Linked DNA regions of Homo sapiens: all the other regions are linked to region 3. Evidence: promoter capture Hi-C in human tissues and cell types (Jung and others, 2019). All regions are on one chromosome and are shown on one strand. Each heading gives the region's core, a stretch centred on a gene start or on the middle of the fragment in contact. The rest is flanking DNA. Distances are from core to core; before and after follow the strand shown.

Region 1 (4,004 bases), core at 1,149-3,648, 190 kb after region 3:
AACGCTGGGATGGAGGGGTGTGCCATGGCACCCAACGCAAGTGCAGGGTGCTTAGTTTCACTGTAACAAAGTACCACAAACTTGGTGGCTTAAAACAATGGAGACTGATTCTCTTACGGTTCAGTGAGCCAGAAGCCTGACACCAAGGTGTCCGCACGGCTGCTTCCTTCTGAGGCTCTAGGGGAGGATCCTTTTCCGTGCCTTTCCAGCTTCAGCTTCCTCCTTGTAAAAACTCCTGGCCGGGCGCATTGCCTCACGCCTTTAATCCCAGCACTTTGGGAGGCCGAGGTGGGTGGATCACGAGGTCAGGAGATCGAGACCATCCTGGCCAACACGGTGAAACCCTGTCTCTATAAAAAACACAAACATTAGCTGGGTGCGTGTCTGTAATCCCAGCTACTTGGGAGGCTGAGGCAGGAGAATTGCTTGAACCCGGGAGGCAGAGGTTGCAGTGAGTCAAGATTGCACTATTGCACTCCAGCCTGGGCAACAAGAGCAAAACTCCGTCTCAAAATAAAAAGGAATTCTTGTGAGGCCAGGCACAGTGGTTCACGCCTGTAATCCCAGCACTTTGGGAGGCCGAGGCAGGTGGATCACTTGAGGTCAGAAGTTTGAGACCAGCCTGGCCAACATGGTGAAACCCCGTCTCTACCAAAAATACAACCAAAAGTAATCTGGCAGGATAAAACCAGAAAACACACACAATTTGATGTCAAGACCTATTTCAAAAGCTATAGTAGGCCAGGCGCAGTGGCTCATGCCTGTAATCCCAGCACTTTGGGAGGCCGAGGTGGGAAGATCACCTGAGGTCAGAAGTTCGACACCAGCCTGGCCAACATGGCGAAACCCTGTCTCTGCTAAAAATACAAAAATTAGCTAGGTGCGGTGGCTCATGCCTGTAATCCCAGCTACTCAGGAGACTGAGGCAGGAGAATCGCTTGAATCCGGGAGGCAGAACTTGCAGTGAGCTGAGATCACGCCACTGCACTCCAGCCTGGGCGACAGAGTGAGACTCCATCTAAAATAAATAAATAAAAATAAAAAGCTATATTAATTAAGATAATGTGGTACCTGTCAGAGAAGGACAAATCAACCAATGAAAAAGAATAGCATGTCTAGAAGGTTCCACACATTTGTGATCCCTGAGTCATGCTGTAGGGAATGGTTGGGCTTTTCTGTGAATAGTTTTGGATCATTTGGATACTTATCTATCTACGTATTGATTGATCGATCAATTCATCTGTTGATCCACAGGGTCTCATTATGTTGCCCAGGTTGGTCCTGAACCCCTGAGCTCCAATAGTTCTCCTGCTTTGACCTCCCAAAGTGCTGGGATTACAGGCATGAGCCACCCCACCGAGCCAACGGGATATCCAAATGGGGAACCATGAATCTTTTTTCTCACCATACCTCACACCCCTACCTCACAGCACACACAAAAATTAATTCCTGACAGACTATAGATCTAAATAGGAAAGGTAAAACAATAAAGCTCCTAAAAAATAACATAGGAGCCAGGCGCTGTGGCTCACGCCTGTAAACCCAGCACTTTGGGAGGCCAAGTTCCAGACTAGCCTGACCAACATGGAGAAACCCCATCTCTACTAAAAATACAAAATTAGCCGAGCTTGGTGGTGCATGCCTGTAATCCCGGCTACTCGGGAGGCTGAGGCAGGAGAATTGCTTGAACCCGCGAGGCAGAGGTTGTAGTGAGCCGAGATCGCGCCATTGCATTCCAGCCTGGGAAACAAGAGCGAAACTTTGTCTCAAAAAAAAAAAAAAAAAAAAAGACTTGATCCAGAACTCAAAGTTGGGTCTGAGTGTGGCTTTTCTGTCTCTCTTTCGTGATGTTGTCTCTCTCTCTTGGCAAGCTCATTCTTTTGGTGGAAAGAGAGCTACCACTCGTGCCAGGATGGTTTCCATTAATTCATGTAACATTTATTGAGTGCCAATTACATGGCAGGCTCTATTCTAGACTCTGGGGACAGAGCCTAGACTGTTTCAGGTCTGAAGAGCCTTTGCCTCGGAGCTCACGTTCTGACGGAAGGAGGTAGACCACGATGCATCAACACAGAAAGTCTGGGGTGGTAAGTCACAGGGAGAGGACATGGCTGGGTGGGGAGGTCTCTTCTACAGGGGCCATTTGGGCAGAGACCAAAGGAGGAGTGAACCACATGGCTACCCGAGGGCAGAGAATTCCAGGCAGAGGCTGGAGGCAGGAGCGCCCTTCTGGTGTTCAAGGTGCAGCCCGAGGGTGAGGCAGCCAAGTGCAGGGGTGAGGAGAGAGGCATGGGAGGCAAGGGTGGGTACTGGGGCCCGATAGGCTGGGTGGAGACTTTGGAGCTGCTGCTGGGTTCTGAGCAAAGGGCATTTTCGAGTGGAAAGGCTCAGTTTGGCTGTGCTGCCAAAGAGTTTTCCAAAGTGGTCGTTCCTGTCCTTGCCAGCAGGTCATTGTGTGCTTTCTGGAGGGTGTGCCCAGGTGTCTCCTGTGGATTTAATTTGCACTTCCCTAATGATTAATGATGTGGAGCACTTTGTGCAGATTCATTGGCCATCTGCATATCCTCTTTCACCAGACACCTACTTGAGCCATTTGCCCATTTTTCTCTTGGGCTGTCTGTGGTTTTCTTAGTGATTTTTAGGAGTTCTTTATATATTCCAATTATAAGGCCTTTGTCCATTTTACAAATCTCTTCTCCCACTCTGGGGCTGCCTTTCACCCTCTTTTTTTTTGTTATTTTTTGTTTTGTTTTGTTTTTGAGATGGAGTCTTGCTTTGTCACCCAGGCTGGAGTGCAGTGGTGTGATCTCAGCTCACTGCAGCCTCAACCTTCCCCAGCTCAGGTGATCCTTCTACCTCAGCCTCCCCAGCAGCTGGGACTACAGGTGCACCACCACCACGCTGGGCTAGTTTTTGTATTTTTTGTAGAGACGGGGTCTCCCTATGTTGCCCAGGCTGGTCTTGAACTCCTGGGCTCAAGAGATTTTCCCACCTTGGTCTCCCAAAGGGCTGGCATTACAGGCGTGAGCCACCGCGCCCAGCCTCCAAGTCATCTTTCACACGCAGAGCACGCCTGAGAGCAGCAACAAGACTAACGTTGGGGCCAAAGCTAAGAAGTGGGGCGGAGCCTCCCTGGTGGCCGGTCGTCAGCCCAGTGCCTGAAATGCATGCAAAGTCTATTTTTATTTTGCGTAGTTGAACCTAAGCAAAAAATCTGGCCCTACAATCTCTAACCTTGCTCCTAACTGGCACCTACCCTATTGCACAAGAAGCTATCTAGGGGAGGACTCAGTGAGCACTCGGTGAGTTTGCCCAGCCATGGTGGTACTGTCTCCTTCCCTCTGCAGGCACAGCGGGAAGAATAGGGCGGATGGAGGGCTCTCTGCACCTTCCACAGCCAGCAGCGTGGACGGCAGATTACAAGTTAGTATCTGTGTGACCTCCGCACTCCCCTGCCGGTGGCTGCCTGGGCTGCTGAGATTTCGCTTGGTTTTATCACTGCAGAGGAATGCCCGCCATACCGGGGGGCGAGCAAGGTCCAGAATGACAAGCCGTGGCATTCCTCAGCCGCCTCCTCCCCGGGGTGGGGCCTGGACATTCCTGGCTGCAGCTAGAGGTCCCAGCATGACAGGGATTCTGACCCCCCCTCCACCACGGCTATTGTTCAGGATTCTGTGGATTCCAGAGGCATCTGCCCAGCAGACTGTCTTGCTGTGAACACCCAGCTCTGCAACCGGTGTTTGCGTGTTTGCCCTGGGAGGCTGAACGCTCACCCAGAACAAAGGCCTCCCCACATGCCTGCTGTGAGCTTCCAAGGACTCGTTAGGACACACGCCAAGGAACCCCGGGTGGGGGTGATACCGAGGAGCTTCCTCCCTGACCCACACACACCCTTTGAAGAGGTCTTTGGCTGCTCACCAGTCTGGTCAATCTCGGGGCAGTATTTATATTCCTTCCCGTTTCCAGGCCTAGGAGCCTTGGCATCCTGCTCTCGCCTCTAACTG
Region 2 (4,146 bases), core at 1,163-3,662, 190 kb before region 3:
CGTTTCTCCCGCTTGGGCCTCAGGGGACTGGGCTCGGGCAGCTGCAGGGCCAGGTAGTCAGAAGGGAATGGGGGGTAGCGGGAGGAGGCCAGCTGCGGGCGGGAGCGGGGATGGAGATGGGAGGCGGAATGGACCGGGGTGAGGGTGGGGGAAGAAATGCAAACAGAAGGAGGATGGAAAAACAAAAGAGATGGTGATGAGTGCGGCTCCCGGGGCTCCCGAGCACAGAAGGGCCGGGCAGCAGCAGGATGCTGTCCTGGGCTTTGCTCTCCTCAGTCAGGCCTGGCCCCGTTCCTATACCAGAGAGAAGGGGGCAGCCCCGACTCACACCCTCCACGGGACACTTGGGCCACACCCAGACAGATGTCCCCAAAGTTGGGCTGGCCTTGCCCCGAGGCCCAGCCCTTCTGCCCAAATGACGCCCACCTTACTCCCAAGCACTTCCCATCCCTGACCCCAACTCACCGAGCTCAGGTATGGGGAGGGGACCCCGGAGGCCTGAAGGGGAAACCCTGTTGAAGGAGGCAGGGAGAGGCTGGAGGGAGAGGGGGCGCCCCCCAGCGGAGGGCTTCTCTTCCTGGAGAAAGGACAGGGCGAGGTCAGATGTGGCTAGGAGCCCAGGCGCCCCACCTGACCCTCCCCAGCGAGAGGAATGCATCTTCTTCTCACCTCTTAGGGGCCGGTGTGTCAGACAACTTGGGTGTCCCCTCCGTCTCGCTGTTATCTGATGATGCAGTGGCATCTGAGTCTGTGATGGGGACAGCTGGTCAGTGGGGATGGGGGGATCCCAGTCCATCCCAGAAAGGTATAACCTCCTCTACACTACAGAAGGGCACTGGAAGACCAGGTGCGGGGGCTCACGCCTGGAATCCCAGCACTGTGAGAGGCTGAGGTGGCCAGATCGCTTGAGGCCAGGAGTTCAAGAGCAGCCTGGACAACCTAGCAAGACCTCATCTCTATTAAAAACAAAAACAATTATCCGAGCATGGTGGCGTGTGCTTGTAGTCCCAGCTACTCAGGAGGCTGAGGCAGGAGAACTACTCGGAGATTGAGACTGCAGTGAGCTGTGATTTTAACACTGCACGCCAGCCTGGGTGACAGAGCAAGACCCTGCCTCAAAAAAATGAAACAAACCAAAACCTAACAGAAGGGCCCCGGGGGAATCTGACTCACCAGCTGGTGGGCACACGCATGCACCACACACTCGAGCTGTCCCAGGGAGGCCCATAGCCTCTCCAGCCTCCCCAGCCCCCCGCCCGCTCTGGTTCCTCCGTAACACACCTGCCACGCATGGCCAGGGTGCCAGGCTCTTTCCCACTCACCACCTCTCCTTGTCATCAGATCCAAGGAAGGATGGGAAGGGCAGCACCTCCACTTGTCACATGAGGTCACCGAGGCTCAGAAAGTAAGGTGTGAGGCTAAGACTCCAAGCCAGGTCTGTGACTCCTTGGCTGTTTGATGCCACTGGTTCCTTGCCTCTGAGCTGAGCAGTCTTCAACTCCTGCCTCTGCCCCACTCCCCATAACCAGGGTCCTGTTCATCTACCCCTGAAGTCCTCCCCTTCATCCACTGCTCCCCACACCAACTAACACAGGTCAGGCCACCAGCACGTCAAAATCACCTGCTAAGCAGTCTCACCTCACCGTGCCACCCACTGTCCACCCCCAACCCCAGAGTGACCTAAAACAAACCTGGTCACATCCTTCCTGATGACATCACCCACTACCTGCATGAATTCATGGTGCTGCTTAATCTGGCTTCAATGTACCTTTCTGGTCAACTAACGTAACTGTATTCTTTAAAGCACACTGACCTATTTCGTCAAAAAAGAAATGTATTTCCTAGTTCAGTGCCTCTGCCTAGAAGGGCCATCTTTCATCGAACAAACGACTGCTACACCTATAGAAGCCGTTACCAATGTCTCTGCTCAGACAGACCCTTTAAGAAGCAGATTAAATGCCACCTCCTCTGTGAAGTCTTCCAGAATCCCTCAAGCCCAGTTAACTGCAGGCTCTCCTGGAACGCTCTACTCTCGTCATGGCTGCCCTCACACTGTGCTGAAAAGCGTCGTTTGCGAGTGTCTCCCTGGCCAGGGCGTGGGCCTCCAGGACGGGAGTGGGGCTCGCATCGCTGGCTCTTCCTCCTCAGATGCAACCCACTCTGGCCATGAACATGCTGGGTTCTCTCCCACCTCCTGCCCTGAATTCCCCTCAAACAGGATGTTAACTGGAAGCCCCTAGGGAAGGAAGAGGCAGGGGATGAGAGGCTACAATAAAAGCCAAATCTCCTACTATGACCTACCTGAGTGGGCCCCTGCCTATTTCCCCAACCTTATCTACAATCCTCCTATAATAACAAGCAAATGGGTATCATGCGTTCTGACAAAACACTACGTCCTAAAACGTGGCTGGCTGCCACATGCCAATCCCTGCCTCAGACCAATGTGCTTTTTTTTTTTTTTGAGACGGAGTCTTGCTCTGTTGCCCAGGCTGGAGTGCAGTGGCGTAATCTCGGCTCACTGCAAGCTCCGCCTCCCGGGTTCACACCATTCTTCTGCCTCAGCCTCCTGAGTAGCTGGGACTACAGGCGCCCGCCACCACACCCAGCTAATTTTATGTATTTTTAGTAGAGACGGGGTTTCACCATGTTAGCCAGGACGGTCTCGATCTCCTGACCTCGTGATCTGCCTGCCTCGGCCTCCCAAAGTGCTGGGATTACAAGCGTGAGCCACCGTGCCCGGCCCAGACCAATGTTTAAAGGCACCACGGAGAGAGGTGATTCTACGTGACATGGCTTACGAGGGCCTCACCCAGGAAGAGGCCCACAAATGCCTACCTTAGGGCTTTTTCAAACTGTGGGTCTCAAGCCATTAGTGGGTCATGAAATCAATTTATTGGTTTGCAACCAGCATTAAAAGAAGGGGAAAAAAGCAGTCTAAAAAGTGTCAGGATGAATTGGATACAGTGATCTTAAAAATGTTTCGTTAAACTTTGTTTTGTTTAACATGTGGGGCCCTGGTTATGATGTAAAATATAGTTAACTGCAGACAATATTCAAATAAAAGGACGAAAACAGTGTTCTCTCTCTTTCATGCCTCTGCTCTTCAACCAAGCCTGACCTGTTCTTACCTCAGGGTAGCTGCATTTATATTATTCTGCCGGGACAGCTCTAGCCCACTTCTTCACAAGATTGGTTTTTGTTTTTTTTTTTTTTTTGAGATGGAGTCTGGCTCTGTTGCCCAGGCTGGACTGCAGTAGTGCAATCTCAGCTCACTGCAAGCTCCACCTCCCAGGTTCACGCCATTCTTCTGCCTCAGCCTCCCGAGTAACTGGGACTACAGGTGCCCACCAACATCCCCGGCTAACTTTTTGTATTTTTAGTAGAGACAGGGTTTCACTGTGTTAGCCAGGATGGGGTTTCTTTCTTTTGAGACAGTCTTGCTCTGTCACCCAGGCTGGAGCACAGCGGTGCTATCATGGCTCACTGCAGCCTTGACCTTTCAGGCAAGGGATCCTCCTGGTTCTGCCTCCCAAGTAGCTGGGACCACATGTATACACCACTATACATGGCTAATTTTTTTTTAATTGAGATGGGGTCTCACTATGTTGCCCAGGATGGAAGGCTGGTTTCTTCTCTGGTCCCAACTCAAATGTCACTCTGTGAAAGGCCTTTCTTGAGTACTCCATTCAGAGGTTGCCTGCTGCCTGCTTGTGTGGTCTGCAAGCTAAGAAGGGCGTTTTTTTTTTTTTTTGAGACGGAGTCTCGCCCTGTCACCCAGGCTGGAATGCAGTGGCAGCGATCTCGGCTCACTGCAACCTCTGCCTCCAGGGTTCAAATGATTCTCCTGCCTCAGCCTCCCCAGTAGCTGGGATTACAGGTGCACGCCACCACACCCGACTAATTTTTGTATCTTTAGTAGAGACGAGGTTTCACCATGTTGGTCAGGCTGGTCTTGAACTCCCGACCTTGTGATCCGCCCACCTCGGCCTCCCAAAGTGTTGGGATTACAGGCGTGGGCCACTGCACCTGGCCAAGAATGGCTTTTAAGCTTTTAAACGGTTGGAAAAAAAAAAAACTAAAGAAAAATTTTTCATATGGAAAAATATGAAATTCAAATTTCAGTGCCTATAAAGTTTTATAGAAACA
Region 3 (4,161 bases), core at 1,429-3,928:
CCAGTGCCCCGCGGTCTCAACCCAGTTAACCGGTGAGTCTGACTGAAGGCAGCTTTCTCTGCTACCCGTGCAGGGTGCGTGCTGGTAAAGCCCGGCCCGTGTACTCCACCTGCCCCAGGAGCTGGAGACAAGACCTTGTGGCTGCGCAGCGGAAACCTTGCCTTGTGACCCCTGGAACTGGCTTTCTTGACTACTCCTTCCCCAGAGCAGCCAAGTTCCACTCCCGCTTTCCCCACACATTACCAGGAGGTTCAACCTCTCTGGCAGATCATCTCTTCCAACCAGGACTTCTTAGAGTCTAATGATGTTCATTCAGGTGTCCCCCCGCTGCTCCCTTGACCTCTTGTAGGAATCTAGACGCCACGAGCTCTTGGCTACAGCACCCTTAACCCGTATCCGTGGCAAGGCGTCTGGCCAGGCGCCCACCCTCTGCCCCTGGCCCTCCCGGCAGCCCTCGGCATGTACCTTTGTTGCAGAGCTCACAGACATGGTGAGGACCCTGGCTGTGCACCTTCATGTGGTCCGAAATATAAGCCGAGCTCAGCATCTTGCCACACACGTGACATGGCACTTTCTCCTCGTGTCGTACTGTGTGCGCCCGCAGCCGATCCTTCGTGGCGAAAGCTGCCTCACATTTCTGAGGAGGGGGGAGGGGCGTGGGGGGTGTCACAGGAGAGTTAAAGCTTGGTGGGCTGGGGAGGGGGGAGCAAGAGATTAAAGGAATCAGAGCCTTGGGGATCTTTGATCTGTAGGAAATGGGAGTGACATGATGAGGCCTTGAAGAAGGGATGAGAAAATGGAGCAAAAAGGCAAAAAGAAGAGAGAGAAAAAGGGGGTCTGAGAGACTGACTCAGACAGCTACCATGAGGATCAAAATCATGAAAACCAAGACAGGAGGAGGCGGGCTTCCTACCTCACATTTGAAGGGCCGTTCTGTTGAGTGCACTTGTCTGACGTGACTGTTGAGGTGATCCGGCCTGGGGACACGTTGGGGTTGGGGTTAGGGCGGAGGTGGTGCGCCCCAAATCCACCAAACCGCACCACAGGCCTTTCCGAGGATCCCTGCGCCTCCTCCCGGAGCCCAGGCCGTCACAGCGACACTTAAGCAGGAAATCCCTCCCCTGGAGCCCAGCAGCCGCTGCCGCCGCCGCCGCCTCCTCCCACGCGAAGCTTCCGTCAACCCCAAGGCCCACCTCCTCGACAAAGGACCACCCCTTGCTCCCTGGTAACCGGGAGAGGCTTCCTCCCTCCGCCCTGGGAGTGGCTCCCCTTCCCCAGCCTCAGCAGCCGCCTCCCTCCCCGCCAGCCACGGCCAGGCCACCTCCGTCGCGTCCCTCCCTCCCCACGGCCTAGCGGGCGGCCGAGGCCCCGTGCACACCGGGAGAAGCTCTTGCCACAGTGGGAGCAGTTGTAGGGCTTGTGCACAGCGCCGTCATGTGAGCGCACGTGGTAGCTCATGCGGTCCTTGCGCTTGAAGCGCTGCTGGCACACCGGGCACTGGTAGGGCTTCTCGTCCGAGTGCGACAGCTTGTGTCGGTTCAGGTGGTAGACGTCGCGGAAGGCCTTGCCACACATCTCGCAGGCATGGTTCTTCCGGATGCGCTTCCCCGAGGCGGTCGTGGTCACCACGCCACCGGCGGCCACTGCGGCAGCGCCGCCGCCGGCACCCGCCTCTCCCCCTCCCCCGCCGGCTCCGCTCAGCTGGGGCACGCTCAGGAGGCTCAGGGGCACCATGGTCGGCATCTTCATAGCACCCGAGGGGACCCGGCCGGCCTTGGCTCCCGTGTGGATGGCTTCGTGCCTCCGGAGATTGTAGCCGTTCTTGAACTCCTTGGCGCACAGAGCGCAGATGTAGGGCCCCTTGCTCTTTGTCTTCTTCTCCAAGGCAGACGCGACCGGGGCCACGGCGACCGTCGAGGTTGGGGCTACGACGGCGGTGGCCGCCGCCGCGGCGATAGTGGCGGCGGAGGCGGGGGGCGCGGCCTCGGCCGCGGGCGCCGACACTGGCGGGGGTGGCGGAGGGGGCGCCGGAGGCTGCTTCAGGGCCGCTGTGTCCACCGTAGAGGCGGCGGCAGGGGCCGGGGGCGCGGCAGCGACGGCGGCAGCAGCGGCGGCAGCGGCCGCAGCAGCCGCGGCGGACTCCTGGGCGGCGGCGAGCACCGGGAGCAAGTCCACCTGGAGGGGCTCGGCCGCCGGGGCCTGGGGCGTGGGCGGGGGCGCCGGCGCGGCCTGCGGAGACAAGGCGCCGAGTGGGCCGCGGGTGCGGGCGGGCGTCCCCCCCCAGCCCGGGCCGCCGCGGCCGGCCCTACTCACCTGGAATGGACTCTGGGCGCAGCCCTGGGAGGCAAAGAAGCGGGACTGGAGCTCAGCCCCGACCTGCAGGGGGTTCTGGGCGTGACCCTGAGGTGGCGGGAAGGAGTTCATGAGGCCGCCCACCCCCCGGGAGTCCAGGCCCAGCACGGGGAAGGGGGGGGCCAGCAGCGTGCAAGGAAACACCGGGAACATGGCCTCGGCCGCAGCGGGGCCCCCGGGGCTCAGCGGGGGCCGGGGGCGCGGGCCGCGCGGGGCCCGGGCTCGGGGCGCCGCCCCCGGCCGGCCGGGCTGGGCCGCGCCGAACGCATGGCCCGCGGGCCGCCCCGCCGCCCGCGCACCCCGGCCGGCGGGAGGGAGGAAAAGAGGGCGCCTTGCGGGCCGCGGAGCGCCGCGGCGACGGCGGCGGCGACGCCCCCTGGGTGGGGGCGGGAGGCCCCGCGGGGCCGGGGCCGGGGGCGGGGGCCCGGGCGGCGGCGGCGGCGGCGGCGGCGGTTGGAGCCTGGCGGGGCGGGGTGGGGGGAGCGAGGGAGCAGCCTCGGCCCCCGCCGCGCGCGCGCCCAGCCGGCGCCTCGGGGAGGGCGGGGGAGGGCGCGAGGGAGGGAGGGGGACAGCTGCGCGCGCACCGGGCGCGCGGAGGGGGGGTGGGACGGGAGGGAGGGCGGGCAGGAGGGGGTGTGGGCAGGGGGGTGGGGGCGGGGGGAGGGAGTTGTTACCTGGAAGATGAAGCTGCTCCAGTTGCTGGGATCCATGGCGGAGGGAGGGAGGGAGGTGGCTCGCGCTCACCCTGGGGCGGGAGGAGGAGGCGGCGGCGGTGGGGGAGGGGGAACCCGGGAGGAGGCGCGCGGGGCGGGCAGGAGGGGGGAGGTGGAGGGTGGGGGAAGCGGAGCACACTACGCGCGGGGAGGGCGGGCGGGGGGCGCGAGGACACACAAGAGGCTGGAGCGGGCGCGAGCGCTAGCGCGAGCGCGCGCGTGGCCAGCGGGAGGGGCAGGCGCGAGAGGGACTCTGGCGGGAGGAGGGACGGGGGAGCCACCCAGCAGCCCGAGTCGCCCCGAGCGCGAGACCCCTGAGACGGCTGCTGATTGGCTGACGATGGCGCAGGTGGTGGGCGCGCGGGAGACAGGGCGGCTTCTCTCCTCTTCCCCCCGCCAACGATTCCACTCCCCCTCCCTCCGCCAGCGGCCGTTATTTCGCGCGCACGCGCACAAGGCCGCCGTCGTTGCCGAGCGGGAGAATGGGGGAGCGCGCGCGCCGGGGGCACGGACGGGGCGGGGCTAATCCCTGAGCGCGCGCCCGCCTAACGGTCGCAGGCCTCATGCTTCGGCTTCCGCTTTTTGCGTCCTGCAGGCCACCGTCCTCCCCGCCCCACCCCAGCGGTGTATTTACAATCCTGCGCTGAGTCGTTCCCCGAAGATGGCGCCCAGTGGAGTCGCCTGCCTTGCTCGCGGCCCACCCCGAGGCGGTCACACCCCGGTCCCGCCCCCGCAGCCCCAAAAATCAGGCGGAAGCACCGGAGCAAAAACTGTATTTACACAACACGGGGTTATACAAAAATTTGAAAAGGCGGAGTGAGGAGACGACGGTCAGGAGGCGCCACAGCGCTGGCCGGCGGCGAGACCCAGGATGTTTGCCTGCAACACAGGAGGGAGGGAGACAGCGACGTTAGAGAGGGGCGCGGGGCGCAGGACAGGCAGAGGAGGGGCAGGGCCGTGACTTCACCTTCAGGAAGGACTCCATCTGTTTCCCCGTTATGCCCTCCACGCGTTCCAGGTCCTCCACCTGGCGGGACAGGATCGATAGGGGACAGGGTCTCGGGGGTACCCGGTCTCCCCCGCCCCCGCCCTCCCC

What was found. Contacts are between HindIII fragments. The study calls those that stand out against the background at their distance.
Region 1: a fragment that was not itself captured here is called in contact with the fragment with the promoter of MAZ in region 3 in 1 of the 25 tissues and cell types used here (dorsolateral prefrontal cortex).
Region 2: a contact is called between a fragment that was not itself captured here and the fragment with the promoter of MAZ in region 3, in 1 of the 25 tissues and cell types used here (dorsolateral prefrontal cortex).

The regions. Positions count from the first base shown.
Region 1 is chr16:29,614,599-29,618,602 of GRCh38, reverse strand. No RefSeq gene overlaps it. Among named protein-coding and RNA genes, the nearest start is that of MIR3680-2, 17 kb to the right of the region's middle. RefSeq lists enhancers at 3,148-3,832, 3,833-4,004. The HindIII fragment of the contact is 8,893 bases long and covers 1-4,004 here.
Region 2 is chr16:29,997,360-30,001,505 of GRCh38, reverse strand. INO80E (INO80 complex subunit E) reads right to left here. Exons shown (of 7, transcript NM_173618.3): 4 at 670-748; 5 at 466-577; 6 at 1-92. Among named protein-coding and RNA genes, the nearest start is that of INO80E, 3.2 kb to the right of the region's middle. The HindIII fragment of the contact is 4,005 bases long and covers 410-4,146 here.
Region 3 is chr16:29,805,046-29,809,206 of GRCh38, reverse strand. It overlaps MAZ (MYC associated zinc finger protein), which reads right to left and starts at 2,678. Exons shown (of 5, transcript NM_002383.4): 1 at 2,314-2,678; 2 at 1,379-2,229; 3 at 914-977; 4 at 466-637. The coding sequence starts at 2,505. KIF22 (kinesin family member 22) reads right to left here. Exons shown (of 14, transcript NM_007317.3): 13 at 4,033-4,092; 14 at 3,823-3,944. The coding sequence ends at 3,897. It overlaps MVP-DT (MVP divergent transcript), which reads left to right. Exons shown (of 4, transcript NR_186424.1): 4 at 74-563. RefSeq lists enhancers at 888-1,127, 3,698-3,747 and silencers at 1,208-1,877, 2,778-2,917, 3,048-3,387, 4,128-4,161. The HindIII fragment of the contact is 10,316 bases long and covers 1-4,161 here.